2 separate regions of the Homo sapiens genome follow, and region 2 is linked to region 1. Evidence: promoter capture Hi-C in human tissues and cell types (Jung and others, 2019). All regions are on one chromosome and are shown on one strand. The core of a region is centred on a gene start or on the middle of the fragment in contact, and the rest is flanking DNA. Distances in the headings are between cores, read along the strand shown.

What was found. The method cuts DNA at HindIII sites, captures the fragments that hold promoters and counts their contacts. A contact is called where the count stands out against the background at its distance.
Region 2: a fragment that was not itself captured here is called in contact with the fragment with the promoter of CILP in region 1 in 1 of the 25 tissues and cell types used here (bladder).

What each region holds. Positions count from the first base shown.
Region 1 is chr15:65,209,245-65,214,539 of GRCh38, reverse strand. CILP (cartilage intermediate layer protein) reads left to right here and starts at 3,067. Exons shown (of 9, transcript NM_003613.4): 1 at 3,067-3,112; 2 at 4,679-4,845. The coding sequence starts at 4,785. RefSeq lists an enhancer at 1,537-2,438. The HindIII fragment of the contact is 7,172 bases long and covers 1-5,232 here.
Region 2 is chr15:65,361,953-65,367,247 of GRCh38, reverse strand. The region is part of intron 2 of IGDCC3 (immunoglobulin superfamily DCC subclass member 3); the gene reads left to right. Among named protein-coding and RNA genes, the nearest start is that of IGDCC3, 13 kb to the left of the region's middle. RefSeq lists an enhancer at 3,326-4,191. The HindIII fragment of the contact is 5,574 bases long and covers 1-5,190 here.

The DNA of each region.
Region 1 (5,295 bases), core at 1,818-4,317:
AAGTGAGGGCCTCAGTGTGAGTGCTGGGCTGAATGAGGAGACCCAGGCAGGAATCCTGGCCTAAAACACTCCACTTTGCCCAATCCTCACCCATAGGGTACCCTGCCTCCCACTACAGAAAGAGATGGAGGTGACTGGGAGGCTGGGGAGGCGTCTCTTACCCACCCTGGCATTCCACAGAATGAAGGCCTTGGAGAGCAGCTGATTACCCTGACCTTGCCCTCTGGTTTACCTCCCACTACCTTCCTTTCCTGTGTATCTCTCTTGCTGTCCTTATCCAGCCTTGGTGGTCATATCTGCTTCTCTGGACTTCCTCCTGACCTTGACTCCACACTGGCTCCTCTGACTTCTGCCAGACACGTAGGAGCAGTCGTTCCCTCCACTCTCTCCTCCCAGCTCTGTTTGCTGTCAGTACAGATGGTCCCCAACTTAGGATGATTCAAGTTACAATTTTCCGACTTTATGATGTGCAAATGTGACACAAATTCAGTAGAAACTGTACTTTCCTGTACAACCATTGTGTTTTTCACTTTCAGTACAGTATTCAATGTATCACATGAGATAATCAATACTTTATGGTAAAATAGGCTTTTTGTTAGATGGTTTCGTACAACTGTAGGCTACTGTAGGCTAATGTAAGTGTTCTGAACATATTTAAGGTAGGCTAGGCTAAGTTCTGATGTTCAGTAGGTTAGGTGCATTAAGCGTATTTTTTTTACTTATGATATTTTCAACTTACAGTGGGTTTATTGGGACATTACTATAAGCCAAAGAGCATCTGTATATCTCAAACCTTGCAATCTCAGAGCTGGCAGGGGCCTGCAAACTCACTCAGTCCATCTCCCGTTGCACACCTGAGGCCCAGGGTTACTTGGGTTCTTGCTAGTTCACGGTCGCATATCAGAATCAGAAACAGCCAGGACTAGGCTTCTGAATTCCAAATTTCAATTTTTCTCCTGTCCTTTGATCTGGGGATTGTGGCTCAGCCTGTCTGTCTGTCTATTCCTTAGGCCATCAGATTTCACATGGGGTTCACTCAGTTCAGACGTCTGCAGTCAAAGCCATGGCTGAAACTGAGTCATGGCTTGGCTCTGACAAGTTGGACCAGACTAGGGCCAACTACAGGGCTTATGAACCAAGGGCTGGTGGCCAGGAGGGAGACGGGGCTCCAGGAGATAAAGCAAATCAGATCTATGCCCCAGGTCTACTTGGGAACCATGCTGCTCAACATCCTTTCTCCACCCCCACTCTCTTCCCCAGCAGATTTTTTTTTTTTTTTTTTTAGACCAAGTCTCACTCTGTCACCCAGGCTGGAGTGCAGTGGCACGATCTCAACTCACTGCATCCTCTGCCTCCTGGGTTCAAGCCACTCTCCTGCCTCAGTCTCCCAAGTAGCTGGGATTACAGGCACACTCCACCATGCCTGGCTAGTTTTTCTATTTTTAGTAGAGATGGGTTTCACTATGTTGACCAGGCTGGTCTTGAACTCCTGACCTCAAGTGATCCACCCGCCCCTGTCTCCCACAGTGTTGGGATTACAGGCGTGAGCCACTCCACCCAGCCTCCCAGTATATCTTGTCAAAGGCAATGCTCAGAAAAAACAGCTCTTACGCACACATACACACACACACACAGAAAGACACATACACACAGGAAAAGGCATAAACACACACACACAGAACTCTCTGGCATGTGGGTATGCACTGTTGTACTACGGGATCATTTCCACGTGAGGCTCTTTCCTCTGAGTGCAAGGATACATCTCTTTTCTTGTGCCTTCCCAGTGCCCAGTCTAGAGCCTGGGAATAAGAGCTCGGTAAAGGTATGTGGAGAGAGTGAGCTGACCCTGGCGTGGATGGCCACAGGACCAGGCCTCCATCTCCAGTTGCTGGCATGAGGCAGGAAGCCCAGCCCAGGCTAGATGAGCCTGCTACATGGGGCAGGACCTGGGAAGCTCCCACTGTGGTCCTTAGTACACTCGCTCTTCATCTTCTTCCTTCAACTGGGGCTCTATCACTGTGACCAGTCAATCTCAAAATGTGATCCATGAACCAACAGCATCAATCTCATCTGGGAACTTGTTAGAATGCAAAGTCTCAGGCCCCACTGAATCAGAAACTCTGGGTGTGGGGTCCAGAAATCTGCTTTAACCGCCCTCCAGGTGATTCTAACACATGCTAAAATTAGAGAACCAGTGTCTGTGCAAACAGATAACCTCATGCTGGGGCCAGGGGGCCGGGAGTGGGGGTGTGAAGCCCCAGAGCACATGCAGCTGCATACGCCCCCTATGGGTAACACTGGCTGTTCACATGCTGGTGGATGCCTATACCTGAAGGCAGACACGTACTCACACGCATGCACATATATGAGCATCAGGGTCTCAGAAGAGTCCACATGCTGGAGCTCTGGGGTCTCAGTGGGTACCAGCAGGCACTCAGATGGAAGTGGGGGGGAGAAAGGAAGAACTGTTCTCACCAGCTGACAACCTATGCCCCACAATTCTTTTGTCCCTTATCCCTTCTGAGGTTCCCTGAGTGTTCCCTCAGAAGCCAGAGAAGCTGAGTAGTTGCCCAACTCAGACCAGACACACCCAGCTGAGAGGCCAAGGTGGCCTGTGTGCCTAAGAGTGTTTGGAGTATGTGCTAAGACCAGCAAAGTCTTTTCTCTGTGTGGGCGAGCCAGGGCCAGGGGAATGTGGGGCATCAGCAAGCTAGGCTTAGGCAAGAGCACACCATCCCCCGGGCCATGAAATGCTGCCCAGATCTAGAATTCCCCGTGGCCCCTTCCCAGGGCTGTTTCTAGTGCCCAGCCCACCTCCTGACCCCTCTCTCTGCTCTGGACTGTGATGCCCCAGGCCACTGCCCACCTGGCCCATCACCAGGTCCTGCGGCATCTCCTCCTTAGGATCTGGACATAAAATCCTGGCCTCTGTGAACTGCAAGGGGACATGGGGAGGGGAGAGGGAGGCTCATGCTCAGATCTGGTTTCGCTGCTGCTTCCTCTGGCTGGCTGCCACAGGCTGAGCCACCAGCTGTGCTATATAAGGCCGGCACTGGACTGCTGGAGAGGCGAAGGCTTGGACCCCCAGCTGAGGAGTCCTGCTCAAGACACGGTGAGCTCCACTCCTATTCCCCTCACCCCATCCCTGCACCCCACTGCTGGACTCAACTGCTCCTGCCCTCCCCTGACTACTCCATTCCCTTCTCCCCACTTCCCCCCACTTTTTGCTGCCTGATCCTTCATCTCCCACAGAGAAGACTCCCTTTCTGCTTTGGGAATCTGCTTTCCCCCATTGGCCCAAAGTCCTCTCCCTCCCCCACCTGAGGACAGGAACCCCCAGATGGTCCCACTTAGGGTTTCCATACCTCTGGGTGCCCTGCTTTATTCCCTGCGGTCAGCCAGTCTGCTTTGTCCAAGTGTTCTGAGGAGCGTGGGATGGCAAGCCTAACCATCAGGGCATATGCTGAGGAAACGGCGGAGATGCTGAGAAACCTCTGTGGGCTGCCAGATGGGAAATGGTTTTTCCACAAGGTGTCTCAGGCCACCTCAGCCTCCAGACATCCCTGGAGCAGGCTCAGGCTCAGGCTGAATGCAGTGCAGGCCAGCAGACTGCTCAGCTCCCTGCTTGGAGCCCAGAGGGATACACACAATGTGGAGGCCTTTGGGACGTCCTGGTGACTCTGCTCCCTCATCCGAGAAACAGGTAGTGGTGGGGCCAGTGGTTTTAGAGCTAGAAGGTCTGCAGCATGGGACTGGTTTTTTCTTCCCCTGGAATATCCCAGTGTTTTCAGATATGTGTATTTTTTAGAGAGGAGGACTCTTCCCTTTCCTACCACACCCTGGACTTAGGATGTTGAAGGGAACCACTTTTGAATCCCCAGAAACGAGTCAGATTCTGGGTTGGCCGGAGCTCTGGGGAGACATAAAAATGTTCTGCTCAGCTGCGGCCTGGGCCACGCACGCCCCATAGTTCCTTGCCCTTGTCCCAGGCCTGCTTTCCTCTCCTGACCCTTGCAGTTCCTCACCCACGCTCAGCAGTTACTGGGGAGCCCTGGCCTCTCACAATGCATCCCCTCTGCTTTCCGTCAGCTGGCTCCTGGCTGTGTAACTCCCAGTCAGGCCCCAAACAAAAAGGCCAGAAATGTGTTCCAGCTGCAGCCCGTGCACATCTGGGAATGTGTTCATGGAGGTGGTATGTCCGAGGCATCTGCACCCTCCAGCCAGCCTGCCTTATGAGAGGCCACTGGAGTCGGAGCCAAGTCTTCACGGCCTTAATATGTACCCGCCTGTGTGAGAGTGTGAACTCCATCAAAGGATGGCAAAACAAATGCCCCTCAGGCCTGGGTTTTAGAAGTGACGAGTCACCAAGAGGCTGCTGGGGGTGAGCCCTGGACTCTCCTCATTGCAAGGAACCTCCTCGCCCCTGCTTGTCCTTGTGCCTCATCTCCATGTGGGGCCCTGGAGCCTACCCCCAGGGATGGAACCTAGTCTGCCTCATTTGAACTCAGATTCTGAGCCTCTGCACCTCCCAAGCTACCTGGTTTCACAACTCAGGCAGATATCACTTTCATATCATTCTGTCCACCTTTCCCTCCTTGACAGGTCAAGAAATATTTCTGCTTGAGCCATAAGCGGTGATTCAGAAATATGAAACCTGACAAGCTTTGTTTCTTTACAGGTCACTGGATCTGAGAAACTTCCCAGGGGACCGCATTCCAGAGTCAGTGACTCTGTGAAGCACCCACATCTACCTCTTGCCACGTTCCCACGGGCTTGGGGGAAAGATGGTGGGGACCAAGGCCTGGGTGTTCTCCTTCCTGGTCCTGGAAGTCACATCTGTGTTGGGTATAGGCTAAGTATCTGCTGGCTCCCAAATCTTCCACTTGCCACAGTGAGGTTGTGTCTGGTCTGGGACTGAACTATGCATCTGCCTTAAGACACAGCAAGGCCTTAAGACCTGAGGCCACTTTATGGATTTATTCGTAATTTATACCCTGTTTGTTTTTCTCCAAAACTTGAGATTGTTCCCATTATTAAAACTCACAAAACAGAACCTTTATATGAGAAGAGGGATGAGCAGTCATTCAGAGGGAGGAAAAAAAGATAAGAGGGTTATTTTTAGCCCTTGAGTACCAAATTGAGCTCCGAGCTTCCTGGCAGCCAAAGTAATAGGGAATCACAGGGCATCAGTGAGATCTCAGAAGCAGGTTTGGGGTTTGGTCTGTTTTTAGTTTTATGAAGATTCTTTTGGCCCAAAGCTCAATTTCATTTAGACCCTGCAGCCAAATTTCACAG
Region 2 (5,295 bases), core at 1,154-3,653, 150 kb before region 1:
CAGCCTCTCTAATAGCTGAGATTACAGGCATGCACCACCACACCTGGCTAATTTTTTTGTATTTTTAGTAGAGACGGGGTTTCACCATGTTGGCCAGGCTGATCTGAAACGTCTATCCTCAAGCGATCCACCTACCTCGGCCTCCCAAAGTGCTGGGATTACAGGCGTGAGCCACCGCACCCGGCCTGGGCCATAGTTTTCTTATTCAATGGGTGGCTGCCCAAAATCTAGCTGCACTCTGGCAAGCCTGCTGGCCTGCACTGCACCATCCCCACAAAAGAACCTCTCCCTGATTTCTGAGCTTGCTCTCCCTGCCCCCAACTTTGTTCACCCTCTTTTAAGAAATGCCTCTGTGGCTGCCCTCAGATGTAAGGAGAGCAGAAGAGAGGGCTTTCTGTGGGCACCTGGACTCACGATAGATGTTGAGACCCAGTGAAGGTGGGAAGCTGGGGGCTGAGCAGAGAGGCCTGAAGAGTGGCAAGCCGGGGGAGCTGCTGGCAGACCCCCAGACTGCAGGGAGATGCAGGGGCCGGGGTGGGCTTAATGCAGGCAAGCCGGTGGGGGGCCAGGACTGGCTCACCTGACTCAGGCAGGAAGGAAATGTGATGCAAAGGGCTGGTGCCCTAGGGGCTCCACCCGCCCTTCTCTCTCTCTTCTCTGGGTCTTGATGTCCATGCTCCTTGGTCTTTGACACTCCCCACCCCCTGCTGCCCCCTCTGCCTTCCTGTGAGGCCACATTTCATATATTGGTCTTTCATATCCCTCAGTCCTAGTTTCTCCTGCCTTGTCCTCCCAAGCTTCTTCCTTTCTCCAGCTCCTCCTCCCTCCTTCTCTTTCTTTATTGTTCTATCCTTCTTCCTGCCTCTTTCTTTTTCTTTAGAGATAGGATCTCACTCTGCTGCCCAGGCTGGAGTGCAGTGGAGTGATCTTGGCCTTGAAATCCTGGGCTCAAGAGATCCTCCAACCTCAGCCTCCTGAGTAGCTGGGACTACAGGCATGTGTCACCTCATCCAGCTAGTTTTTTTTTTTTTTTTTTTTTTGAGACAATGTCTGTCTCTTTTGCCCAGGCTGGAGTGCAGTGGCTCAATCTCGGCTCACTGCAACCTCCACCTCCCGGGTTCAAATGAGTCTCCTGCCTCAGCCTCCCGAGTAGCTGGGACTACAGGCGCCTGCCACCACGCCCAGCCAATTTTTGTATTTTTAGTGGATACTGGGTTTCACCATGTTGGTCAGGCTGGTCTCGAACTCCTGACCTCAAGTGGTCCACCCGTCTCAGCCTCCCAAAGTGCTGGGATTACAGGCATGAGCCACTGCACCCGGCCAAATTTTTAAAATTTTTTGTAGAGATGAGGGTCTCACTATGTTGCCAAGGCTGGTCCAAATTCCTGGCCTCAAGCCATCCTCCCACCTTGGCCTCCCAAAGTGCTGGGATTACAGGTGTGAACCACTGTGCCCGGCCTGCCTCTTTCTTCAGTTTTGTGAGAGTTCCTGTGTTTACCATCTTCTGCCTTGTCTAGAGTGGGATTTCTGTTTCAGAAGCAGAAGTAGGTGAGCTCGGGCCTCTGCAGAGACTAAGGAGAGAGACTGGGAAGATAAGGTTCAAAGAGGGCAACAAAGGATGGGGTCCATAGCCCCCCAGCAAGTCAGGGGCTCTCTGGGGGCAGACCTTTCCTGAAAGGAATCTGAGAACCCTGGGCCCAACCCTGGTTGGGGCCTGTCTCTGAGCCTGGACACTGACACTGACACTGACCACAGTGGGTGGTGGGGGCAGCCCTGGGCTGCTCTCTGGAATGCTGGTGTTAGGTTGCAGTGCAGATGCAGGCAGTGATAATGGGCAGGAACTGGACTTTCTGGTCTGGCTGCTGCCCCCAAGGCCATTGGAATGTGAGGGTGGGGGTACTATCAAGAGGCCACAGGGTCCTGGGGTGGGAAGATGGAGACCAGACCACCTGAATGGAGGAGGGGACAGACCACCGTGAGAGAGACACAAGTTCTAGCCCTTTCATTGAGTCGCAGGCTGCAGCAATAGAATCCTGAAATTCCCAACCCCCTTAGGTCCTTAGGGGTCTTCCCGGTCTCCTGGTAGGATTAGAGCTTCGGGAAAAACCTTGGTGCTCATCTAGCCCAGCTTTCTCATTTTACAGACTTGGAAACCGAAGCCCCAGGTGAGTGACCTGCCCAAGGACATGGCTGGTCCTCCAGTCTGGGCAGGTAAGGGAGTCTCTGGTTTATCAGGCTTCTGAACCCTGGCCTTCCCCAGTGCCTCACTCTTCACTGCCCTCTGGTTCAGAAAGGAGGAGTCTTATATGGTCCTCCCCTAGGAAACACTGGCGTGCATGTTCTATTTTTCTTTTTCTTTTCTTTTTTGAGACAGGGTCTCACTCTGTCACCCAGGCTGGAGTTCAGTGGTGCGATCTTGGCTCAGGGCAGCCTCAACTTCCTGGGCTCAAGCAGTCTTCCCATCTCAGCCTCCCAAAAAGCTGGGACTACAAGCACACAATACCACGCCGGGCTAATTTTTGTATTTTGGTAGAGATTAGGTTCCACCACGTTTTTCAGGCTGGCCTCAAACTCCTCAAGCAATCCTCCCACCTCACCCTCCCAAAGTGCTGGGATTACAGGTGTGAGCCACTGCCCCGGCCCCTCTGTTTTTCTTTCGTGCTGCTCTGGTTTATCTGTGGGTGTGGGCTTGTTAAGCCTTGGATGTGGGCTCCTGACCTCCATGGCAGATTGCAGAGGGTCTCTGAGTTTCCAAAGCACCCTGGAGGCTGAGCTCAGCAGGTGTGAGGGCTACCTATGTGCTGGTTCTTGTAGAGAACTAGTTAGTAACAGTAAATGTGGTCAGAGTAATATGGGGCTGCACTGTTCTAGGCCCTTTGTGTGCTAATTTATTTAATTCCCACAATTCCATTAATAGGAATTACTAGCCCTGTTTTACAGATGAGTAAACGAAATCCCAGAATGATTAATTAAATTGGCCGAGGGTACACAGTAAGTGGGGAAGCTGGGATTTCAACCCAGTTCTGCCTGACCCAAAAAATTCACTGGCCTGAATGTCTCTAGCAGGGGCTCACACCCCTGGAGAACCTATCAGTATTTATGCCTCAGAAATAAAAGCAGATACCTGGAGGCATGTAATGTGAGAGTAGGGGAGTGTAGAGAACAGAGGACAGCTTAGAACCCTGGCCAAGGTGGGAGCCACTTCTGGGTGGGCCAGGCAGGATTACATACTCCATGACCCAGCTGCTGCTGGGACATCCCAGTTACAGGAGGCTCTGTGTAGACAAGTCTTGCTCTACCTGTGAGGCGGGCAAGAGCTGGCTGGGAATGGGTTCCTGAGTGAAGAGGAAGCTGGGAGGTGGCTGGGGCTGCTGGAGGTAGAGGTGGGAGTTGCTTCTTCCTGAGGAGGAAAGACAAATTCCCCCCTCCTCTTTGCTCCCTTTCCCTTTCTTGTTTCCGCATAATGATGCTGATTGCTCCACATCTGTCATAATTACTCTTTGTTTGAAAATTCAGAACAAATCACAGGAGAGGAACTGGAATGGCTTGAGAAGGCTCCTTCTCCCCAGGGGTCCTGGCAGGAGGCGGGTGGCGGGGGTGGGCAGCAGGGAGAAGCCATAATCATCCTGGAGGAGCTGAGACAGCTGATTGTCCTTGTCCTGTCCCCTTGCCTGGGCAATAGCCACAGCCCCCAGGGAAGGTGGCCTACAGCCTTGTGGAATTACACGCCCACGGGGCCGACTCTGGGGCTGGGCAAGCATTGGGTCTCTGGAGTGACAGCCAAGAATAGGGGACCACTGCTTCCAGGGAGCACCAAACCACACCCTCTTGGGGGTCCAGCAGGCGGCCCTGGATGCTCAGTGCTACACACTCGCTCCCCAGCCTGACTTCTGGTGAGGGTTCTGGTTCCCATCCCCATCCTGAAGGCCCTTGGTTTTGGGGGCTCATCATTCCCGGAATATGAGCCCAGGTTTGTGACCCTGTCTGCCATGAGCATCCTTTTATGTTTCCCTCCCAACCTAACCCCTTTCCACCTGTGGGCTTTTGTGGGGCGAAATCAAAGACAACCTAGAATTTACCCCCAAACCAGCTGGGGGTGGTGGCTCACGCCTGTAATCCCAGCACTTTGGGAGGCTGAGGCGGGCAGATCACCTGAGGTCAGGAGTTCCAGACCAGACCAGCCAACATGGTGAAACCCCATCTCTACTAAAAATACAAAAATTAGCCGGGTGTGGTGGCTTGGCAAGCACCTGTAATCCCAGCTACTCGGGAGGCTGAGACAGGAGAATCGCTGGAACCCGGGAGGCGGAGGCTGCAGTGAGCTGAGATGGGGCCACTGCACTCCAGCCTGGGTGACAGAGCGAGACTCTGTCTAAAAAAAAAAAAAAAAAAAAAAAAAAATCCCCAAACCTCGCTGGTAATAAAACCCCATGTATTCTCACCCCGACAGGACCGTTGGTGGGTCTGACACCTCATGTTGCTGGACCCAGTGCAAGATGCAGACAGTCTTGCACTGACGACCGGCTCTGGGTTCAAGCTCCCTCCCTGAACACTGCTGAGCCTCAGTTTGTCTTTGTGGAAAATGGGAGGGGGCACGGCCCTGTCATCAGTCATTCTGAAGGGGAGAGGATGAGTAAGGCCCAGGCATTTCTGGAGTGTGGAGTTCTGTGCACCCCCCCACCCACCCTCACCCCTTGCCAGTGGGGGCACCTTTTGTTCAGGCTTCGTGTGAGCAGGTCAGAGAAGCCAGGGGAGTCCTGGAGACAGGAGGTGCCTGGCTTGGAGGGGATACCTCCTCTGGCCCCACCATTATAGACTGAAAGTCATAGGAGGAGCTTGGACTTGACCCTGACACCATGATGCCTACCTGTGCACCCTCCCTGGCTCCCACTTCCAGGAGAAGCTGCTTTTAATATGTAAAATTTCAACTCACCTTTGTGTGACTTTGGGCCCATCTGCTTACCCTACTGGGTGGGCCTCTAGTTTCCTCCTAGGTGGAATGTGGTGTGGGGAGACCAGATTAAAACATTCCTAAAATCCCTTCCCAATTGTAAAGTTCTCGGACACTACCCCATTTTCATCCTGAACACGGCTCTCCAATTCCTCCTCTGCCTCCCTCCAGGCCCCCCAGCTCCCTCTGTACCACTTCTTTTTTTTTTTTAATGTCAGGATGAAAGTTTTGAGAATAGCGCTCTTGTCATTCTCCCCCTTTTGCTAACCTCACTCTGTCACCGCCCTCCTGGCTCCTGCCCGCGCACGTGTCCAAAGCAGCCCAGGCTGCGAAGTTTCAGGATG